Regions from separate parts of the Homo sapiens genome. Here regions 1 and 3 are each linked to region 2. Evidence: promoter capture Hi-C in 16 types of primary human blood cells and fetal thymus (Javierre and others, 2016). All regions are on one chromosome and are shown on one strand. The core of a region is centred on a gene start or on the middle of the fragment in contact, and the rest is flanking DNA. Distances in the headings are between cores, read along the strand shown.

Region 1 (2,735 bases), core at 27-2,526, 250 kb before region 2:
CAATCAAAAAAGGAAAATAGTGACTGTCATACAAATATAAGTGAACACATTCATACTTTTAATTTATTTACTTTAATTTATTTATTCATTCATTCATTCATTTGAGACAGGGTCTCACTCTACTGCCCAGACTGGAGTGAAGTGTTGTGATGATAGCTCACTGCAACCTCCACCTCCCAGGCTCAAGCGATCCTCCCACCCTGGCCTCCCAAGTAGCTAGGATTGCAGGTGTGCACCACCGTGCCCAGCTGATTTTTTTTTTTTTTTTTTTTTGAGTTGGAGTCTCACTCTGTCACCCAGGCCGGCTGGAGTGCAATGGTGAGATCTCAGCTTACTGCATCCTCCGCCTCCCGGGTTCAAGCGATTCTCCTGTCTCATCCTCCTGAGTAGCTGGGATTACAGGTGTGTGCCACCACGCCCGGCGAATTTTGTGTTTTTAGTAAAGATGGGGTTTTCACCATGTTGGCCAGGCTCGTCTCGAACTCCTGACCTTAAGTGAACTGCCTGCCTCAGCCTCCCAAAGTGCTGGGATTATAGGTGTGAGCCACCACACCCACCTTGATTTTTGCTTTTTTTTTTTTTTTTTTTGGTAGAAATGGGGTCTCACTGTGCTGCCCAGGCTGGTTTTGAGGCTCAAGTGATCCACTGGCCTCAGCCTCCCAAAGTGCTGGGATTACAGGCATGAGCTACTGTGCCTGGCCCAGACTTTTTATTTAGCTCATTAATTAATGAGGGAACCAGTAAGATGTTACAAACAGTTCTAAGGAGAATTCATAAAATACATGTAGACTAACAAGAATGCTAAAATTAATTTACAAATAGATAGAATGTTGGTCAGTATCCATAAGGAATAATCAGCAACATTTCCACAGAACACAGTGTTTAGTTCTGTGGACAAGAATCATGTGCATCACTACCAGTGTTCTACAACTTACAGAATTGTAAAATAGTTTAGAGACCATAAAAGGCAGAGACGACCGAAAGGGTATGTTGGCTAGGACACCCAGTGATTCTTTTTTTTTTTTTTTTTTTTTTTTCCCATTTCAAAGCCTTTCATAACCTTTCCTGACAAAGTGTTGTAGAAGCTAACTAATCCCTTTCTCAGCCACTAAGCCAGTAGGCTTTATCAGCCCAGGCAGCCATCAGCCATGGTTGTAGGTGTGGCTCAGGAAGATGATTGATTGTCCAGTCTTTTGTCGCTTTGGCTTAAATGTTTTATAAACATTTCTTTTCTTTTTCTTTTTCTTTTTCTTTTTTTTTTTTGAGACGGAGTTTCACTCTGTTGCCCAGGCTGGAGTGCAGTGGCACAATCTCCAAGCTCCGCCTCCCGGGTTCACGCCATTCTCCTGTCTCAGCCTCCCGAGTAGGTGGGACTACAGGCGCCCGCCACCACACCTGGATAATTTTTTGTATTTTTAGTAGAGACGGGGTTTCTCCGTGTTAGCCAGGATGGTCTCCGTCTCCTGATCTCGTGATCCACCCGCCTCGGCCTCCCAAAGTGCTGGGATTACAGACGTGAGCCACTGTGCCCGGCCTAAACATTTATTTTCTTATTGTTACCTCAGAGCAGGGCTGCCTGTGAGGTGGAGGGGATTGTGCCCTGGGAAAGTTGAACCTGGTCAGTTCTCTGCTTACCTGGGGCTTTATCATCGGGGTTGCCTCTGTCCAAAGAGGACATTTTTCTCTAATTTTCGTGAAGATATCAGACCAGTTACCCCCCATGACTCAAAGGATATGGTTTGTTTTTGTTGATCTTAGTTCTTAGGGCTATAAAAATGGGTTAGTTCCCTAACTTGAGTTTTCCCTTTTTTCAGGTTTTCTTACGGAAACTGGAAAAACCAGAGCCAGCACTATTTTTTCTACCGGAACTGAATCTGCCTTCCAAGTTACACAGATAAGAATTATGGTAATTTTCGTGCTACCTTCTTTAAGCAATGTTACTACTTTTGTTTTCAATTTTTATGGGTACATAGTAGGTATATATATTTGTGGGGTACATGAGGTGTTTTGATACAGGCATGCAATGTGAAATAATCATACAGAGGATGAGGATGAGCTATTCATCCCCTCAGGCATTTAGTCTTTGTGTTATAAACAATCCATTACACTGTTGTAGTTACTTTTCCATGTACAATTAGGTTATTATTGAATATTACCTTTTATTACATTTCAGAAGTCCACGTCATTGGTGTTTTGGTTTTTTTTTTTAAAGTCAGACCTATGGCTGACCATGTCATTGGTTATTCATTGAACATTTAATGATGATTTACTCTGTGTCAGGCCTGTAGCAGAGGGCAGGGACACAAAGATGGATAGACTGTAAAGTCTTTGAAATGGTGAGAATATAAGGATTGAGAAAGTTAAGGAACATTTCTTGGGAAACAGCTTTCTTATTTTTTGAGGGCTTAATATGTTTGAAATATTTTTCATTGGTCTCGTTTTGTTTTAACCTGTTTGAATTTAACCATGCTGGAAACAAAACGGCCACAGAACTTTTGCCCCTTTGATAGACTTCATCCTAATCTCTGTTTCCAGGTTCGACGTGGTGGCATTGGTGCCCAGTGTGGGTTGGTGTTTGCCTATAACTCATCTTCAGATAAATTTTGTGCGGAAGAACACTTCAAAAGGTTTGAAAAATATGACAAATGGAAGCTTCAGGAGCTCAGGCAATTTGTAAAAAGCAGGTAAGAAGGTAAAAAATCTTTGTAGAACAAAGATCTACAGAACAAAAATCT
Region 2 (3,025 bases), core at 472-2,971:
TCCCGGGTTCAAGTGATTCTCCTGCCTCAGCCTCCCAAGTAGTGCATGCCACCATGCCCGGCTAATTTTTTTTTTTTAGTAGAGACACGGTTTCACCATGTTAGCCAGGATGATCTCGATCTCCTGACCTCATGATCTGCCCGCCTTGGCCTCCCAAAGTGTTGGGATTACAGGCATGAGCCACCGTGCCCGGCCTCAACCCAATTTTTAAAAGTACTTTGTGTCCCATTCATCAAATAAAACTAGTCCTCTAAAGAGCTCTGTCTTGTGTTTATCCTGTGGTTTAGCCCAAATTTAAGAAAAACTGTGATGTACTGCACCCCTTCTGTTGGACCCTGTATCTACATATAAATTATCACATTTAACCCTCACAACCTCCTTTGTAGGTAGGTAATGGTCCATTTTACTGATGAAGGAACTGAGACTCCAAAGTGCTAAGCAGCTTGCCTAAGGTCACACATGGTGGATGGGGCCCGGCCAGCCAGCTCGAAACCCAGGTGTGTCTGATGCTGACCATGCTCTTCCTTGGTTTATCATTATTTGCTCCTCCATGGTCAGAGCTGGTAGGGCCTCAGGGCCTCAGAGACTGTAGGGTCTCACCTATGCCCTCCTCAGATGGGAAAACAGACCCAAAAACCTGTCCAAGGTTACCCAGGGAGGAAGATGCAAAATCAGGACTCAGGCCGGGCGCGGTGGCTCATGCCTGTAATCCCAAGACTTTGGGAGGCCGAGGCGGGTGGATCGCTTGAGGTTAGGAATTCGAGACCAGCTTAGTCAACATGGTGAAACCCTGTCTCTACAAAAAAAAAAAAAAAAAAGAAAGAAAGAAAGAAAGAGGAGAGGGAGGAAGGAAGGAAAAGAGAAAGAAAGAAAAGAAGAAAGAAAGGAAGGAAGAAAGGAATAAAGAAAGAAAGAAAGAAAGAAAAAGAAAATCAGGACTCAGAACAGCAGCTGATCAGTGACACCCTCGGGACGCGTAGACAACCCCTCTCCCCCACCAGGCTCTCGTTAGAAATATCCGCCGGAAACTATGCTCACAGGTCTACAGTGGATGGCACCCTCAGGAGTCAGGAAATCGGCGTCCAAGTTCTGGCCTTTGGGCAGGTCTCTCCCTCTTGGAGTCTCAATTTTTGTGTATGTAACATGGGCCAATTTTGGGGAGACTTTTAAGAGACAAAGACTGGCAAGGCAAGTAACTTTATAAACCTACAGATTGTCCAGAGGTGATATATCAAGGCTCATTGTAAACTCTGGAAGACTTAGATCCAGCTTTTATCCCTTAAATGGCGTCACCTTGGGTCAATTTCTATGCCTCAGTTTCCTCATATATGAAATGGGGGTCAAAATAGGATCTACTTCATAGAGTTGTTCTAAGGGTTCGAGCGCTTGGAAGTGTCTGGCCCATAGTGATCACTCAGGAAAGTTGGCTTTTAGTACAGCTTTAGCCTCAAGGCGTAGCTACATTGTAACCCTTGACTACCCCGGTCTCCTCCAAGCTCCGTAGTTCCCGCAGGCCCCGCCCCCGTCCCCGCTCAGTCCCGCCTTCTCCTCCCCAGGTCCCGCCCGCGCAGCCGGCCCGGTTTTCTCCCGCCACCAGGGGGCGGCGGCGCTAAGGGCGGCCTTCTGGGCCGAAGCCGGCGACGCTCTAGGTAGCTGCGGCGGCTCCTCTGTGGCCAGTGGCAGCGGCGCTCTAGCCGGCGGCCGTGAGGGGCGGGCTCTCAGTGGTGCGGCCGGCAGGCAGCGATGGCGGCCGTACGGGGCCTGCGGGTGTCGGTGAAGGCGGAGGCCCCGGCGGGGCCGGCCCTGGGGCTCCCGTCCCCTGAGGCGGAGTCCGGTGTTGACCGTGGCGAGCCGGAGCCCATGGAGGTGGAGGAGGGCGAGCTGGAAATCGTGCCTGTGCGGCGCTCGCTCAAGGAACTGATCCCGGTACGGGCGGGGGTCGGGGGGTAAGGAAGAGGTCGCGGGGCTAGTGTCTAGCGCCGGAGGGGGCCGGAAGGGGCGGTGGCCGGAGCCCCAGCCGGGGAAGTCAAGGGAGCGGGAGAGGAGGGAGCCAGCGTCCTGGGAACGGGAACGCCGGGCTGGAGGAGGGACGCGGAGCGGGAGAAAGGACGCCGGGGCGCCGGAAATGGGTGTTGAGGGGGCTGGGGGGTGGTGGCGGAGAGCTGGGAGGGAGTTGAGGACCCCCCTCCGCTGCCCCCTCTGAGCCGCGCTGTGCAAGGAGGTGAGTGAGGAGGGGCTGGAAGGATGAGATAAAGGGGGAGCCCTGGGCGGGAACAGAACCAGGGGCAGCCCAGAAGGAGCTGTTGGGTGGCGCCAGCAACCAGGTCTCCTTGTGGGTCTTGCCCCGGAGGAATTTGTATCTGGGAAACATGGCACTCGCTCTTTGTCTTGAGAGGGCTGCACTTGTCAGCAGCAGAAACTCACTGTTTCTGTCGTGACTTCGGGGTCATCTTGCCCCCCCCGCAGCTCCAGTGACACCTACACCGTGGCCCCAGCATCTGACTCTTAATGAAAGCAAACTAGCAGACGACCAATAGACATCCTTGGTCCCTCCTTTACCGCGCTGGGGATGGTGAGAGGTGTTTTGCTTGTGACTTGGTGGCTGTATATCCAGTTCTCAGAGCTGGTTTCAGGCCTGGATGACTCCTCTTAATTTCTCACCTAACATGAATTACTTTTGACCACATGTCAACATATTTAGACTGAAGTTATGGAGAAAGGTTAAAGTATGATCGCTAGAGATGGCAAACGTTATAATTATGATTAACAACAGCTAATATAGTAGCATTTACCATTCACTATATTGTGTCACTTAAATATACTGGCCGTGCACGCCTTTAGTGCCAGCTATTCAGGAGTCTAAGTTCCAGACCAGCCTCAGCAATATAGCAAGACCCCTTTGAGGTCCCCCCTTTCCCCTCTCCCCATCTCAAAAACAAAACCAAAATAAATAAATATTACTGCAGTTGTGAAGCAGGTGTTATCATCCCTTTAGTCATTCAGTTCAACATGGTTTTTGTTTTGT
Region 3 (3,079 bases), core at 572-3,071, 200 kb before region 2:
TCTCCTGGTAGTTTTTATAAGAATTAAACAAGATTGTGCACCTAAAGAAATTAATTGGCCAGGCACAGTGGCCTGTAATCCCAGCACTTTGGGAGGCCAAGGTGGGCGGATCACAAGGTCAGATGTTCAAGACCAGCCTGGCCAACAGGGTGAAACCCTGTCTCTACTAAAAATACAAAAAAAAAAAAAAAAAATTATCCAGGCTGGTGTCACGTGCCTGTAGTCCCAGCTACTCGAGAGGCAGGGGAATCGCTTGAACCCGGGAGGCGGAGGTTGCAGTGAGCCAAGATGGCGCCACTGCACTCCAAACTGGGCGACAGCAAGACTCCATCTCAAAAAAAACAACCAAAAAAAAGTCATTCCTAGCCCATGGTGTACACTGTATCGGTGTAGCTGTATTTATATTCAGTCAACAGTTAGGTGTTACTGATGCTTACTGTTTACCGGGTAGACGCAGTAATTTACACATAGTTGCATAAACAGAAAAGCTATTCTGGATCCAGGTATAACCTGTGATAGTGGCACTAAAGATTGTTTTATGGAAGAGCACGCCATTGTTTCTATGATGCTGCCTCCAGAGCTTGTGTTTCTGCTGAAAAGGCCCTTGACTGCCACAGGGGTCGCTGATGTTGCTGTCCTCTGTCTGTCAGGTTGCTAGTTCAAGGATTCCCCCATCTGGTGGTTGTAGCTCACCAAGGTCCCATTCTCATGTGGAGGAATACAAAAGCAAAACTGGCCAGCAGAAACATCAACATTTTTATTATTTCCATTCAGCCAGAGAGTCAGTAGAAGACAGGCCACATAATCATCAAGCCTGTCTCTCAACCGTCCACATTTTTTCCATGAAACGTCTTCTGTAGGCGGCACTTTAACCACCCACGGATTATGATGGGAACAAAGAGAACATTGTTAGGAGAAATGGGATTAATCAGTAGTCCTCACCTTTGAGCCTGGGAATATTTGTATCTTCTTGTGAGCCCTCAGCATCTTAAAACTAACCTTCCACCCATAAGCACTGTGCTTCCCCGTTTATCCTTTTATTTATGTCAGAATGGACTTAATAGGGTTTTTTTATGGGTTTTTTTTAATTCAATGGATAAAAATCTATTACTTTTCTTATTTTTTTTGAGACAGGGTCTCACTCTGTTGCCCAGGCTGGAGTGCAGTGGTATGATCTTGGCTCACTGCAACCTCCACCTCCTGGGCTCCAATGATCCTCCTACCTCAGCCTCTCAAGTAACTGGGACTACAGGCGCCCACCACCACGCCCAGCTAATTTTTTGTATTTTTAGTAGAGACGGGTTTCACCATGTTAGCCAGGTTGGTCTCGATCTTCTGACCTCGTGATCTGCCTGCCTCGGCCTCCCAAAGTGCTGGGATTACAGGCGTGAGCCACTGCGCCCGGCCACTTTTCTTATTTTTTTTGAGACAGGGTCTCACTCTGTTGCCCAGGCTGGAGTGCAGTGGTATGATCTTGGCTCACTGCAACCTCCACCTCCTGGGCTCCAACGATCCTCCCACCTCAGCCTCTCAAGTAACTGGGACTTCAGGTGTATGCCACCATGCCAGCTAATTTTTGTAGTTTTTGTAGGGATGGGGTTTTGCCATGTTACCCGGTTGGTCTCGAACTCCTGGACTCAAGCAATCCATCTGTCTCAGTCACCCAAAGTGCTAGGATTACAGGCCTGAGCCACTGTGCCTGACCCATTATTTATTTTGATGCTCAAATTGTCCCATGTTTGGGCAGTGGAAACTGCTCCTCCCTGGCTTTTGTGTTCTTTTGATATGTTGCCATTATTTTTTGAACAGTTCCTTAATTTTTGATAGAGAAAGATGTTTCAGGCTTGTTTTAGGCCTTCCCTGCTTCAGGATTGAAATGGGACTTTTTCCAAAGAGGTCCCAGGGCACTGTTTTTATTCTTGAGCCATTCCCACCTTTTGAGTCCCCTTCCCACCCACCAGCAGCCGGGTGCGCCCAGGGTATCCTGCCTCTGGCTCTTCCTCTTAGTCTTCAAGTAAAGCTGCAAGCAATTTCCAGCACTGTCCCCACAACTGAACCTGAGTGTTGCCACTACAGTGGCCATAAGGACTGTATCCCATTGGGGCCCCTAGGACAGATCACTGTTTTTCAACTCTCACGTGCTTCTAAGCAACCCCAGGGCCCTGGTAAGGGTATCTACCTTTTCTCCGTCCAATGACTAGAGATACTTTTTGTTTTCAACAACTGAGAAACTAACCTTAGCCAGAGGCATCATCCAGAAGATTCTGTTTACAGTGTCCTGTGATAACAGGAAAAAAGATAAGTCATTTGCCATAACTTGGGAATTATATTGTCTTCGCAAGTGCCATATGGTACAGGGAGTATGGTGTCGGGTCTTTTCAGAGGGTACATTTAACAAAGCAAGTAGCTCTCCCAGTTTCATTCCTCTCTTAGGACAGTCTTACAGTCACATTTTTCTCAGAAAGAGGTTGAAGGTAGGATTGATATTGAGGTTACATATGCAGAGGGGAGGCTGAGTTAGGTACCCCTGGGAGACGGCATGTCACCTCCTGAATGTTTGGTGTTGAATCACACTCCACCTTTGGCCCCAAAGAGTGAAAGTCAACGTTTGGCCTTCTCAGACCTGAAGCTGGGGTGCCTCCACCATGCACATAACACTTCCCATGTAGCCACAGTTCCACACATAAGCCTGTGTGACAATAGGGAAAGGCACCCTGAGGGTCCCAGGAGTGCAAACAGTCACTGGGGGGATTCTGAGTGACTTCTCAGGAAATGCAGCTGACAGCTGTCACCTTGCCCATCTGGGCAGCTCACCACTAGACTCCTGATTCTAGAAAAGTCTCCCACCTCCAGAAAGGGCCCCTTTAACAAGTCTCATTGCCAAAGTGGGATTCTCAAAAGGGCATCAAAGGTATGTTTATTCTGTTTTTTAAAATAAAGAGGCCGGGCGTGGTGGCTCATGCCTGTAATCCCAGTACTTTGGGAGGCCAAGATGGGTGGATCGCAAGGTCAGGAGATCAAGACCATCCTGGCTAACACAGTGAAACCTCATCTCTACTAAAAATACAAAAAATTAGCT

The links. The method cuts DNA at HindIII sites, captures the fragments that hold promoters and counts their contacts. A CHiCAGO score of 5 or more calls a contact.
Region 1: a contact is called between a fragment that was not itself captured here and the fragment with the promoter of NCBP3 in region 2, in 3 of 17 cell types (megakaryocytes, naive B cells and erythroblasts). The highest score is 6.0, in megakaryocytes.
Region 3: a contact is called between a fragment that was not itself captured here and the fragment with the promoter of NCBP3 in region 2, in 1 of 17 cell types (naive B cells). The highest score is 5.2, in naive B cells.

The regions. Positions count from the first base shown.
Region 1 is chr17:4,095,780-4,098,514 of GRCh38, reverse strand. ZZEF1 (zinc finger ZZ-type and EF-hand domain containing 1) reads left to right here. Exons shown (of 55, transcript NM_015113.4): 10 at 1,815-1,906; 11 at 2,536-2,684. Among named protein-coding and RNA genes, the nearest start is that of ZZEF1, 46 kb to the left of the region's middle. The HindIII fragment of the contact is 2,756 bases long and covers 1-2,654 here.
Region 2 is chr17:3,844,942-3,847,966 of GRCh38, reverse strand. It overlaps NCBP3 (nuclear cap binding subunit 3), which reads left to right and starts at 1,721. Exons shown (of 13, transcript NM_001114118.3): 1 at 1,721-1,926. The coding sequence starts at 1,744. RefSeq lists silencers at 1,433-1,552, 1,733-2,022. The HindIII fragment of the contact is 12,990 bases long and covers 1-3,025 here.
Region 3 is chr17:4,045,989-4,049,067 of GRCh38, reverse strand. The region is part of intron 37 of ZZEF1 (zinc finger ZZ-type and EF-hand domain containing 1); the gene reads left to right. Among named protein-coding and RNA genes, the nearest start is that of LINC01975, 70 kb to the right of the region's middle. The HindIII fragment of the contact is 6,904 bases long and covers 1-3,079 here.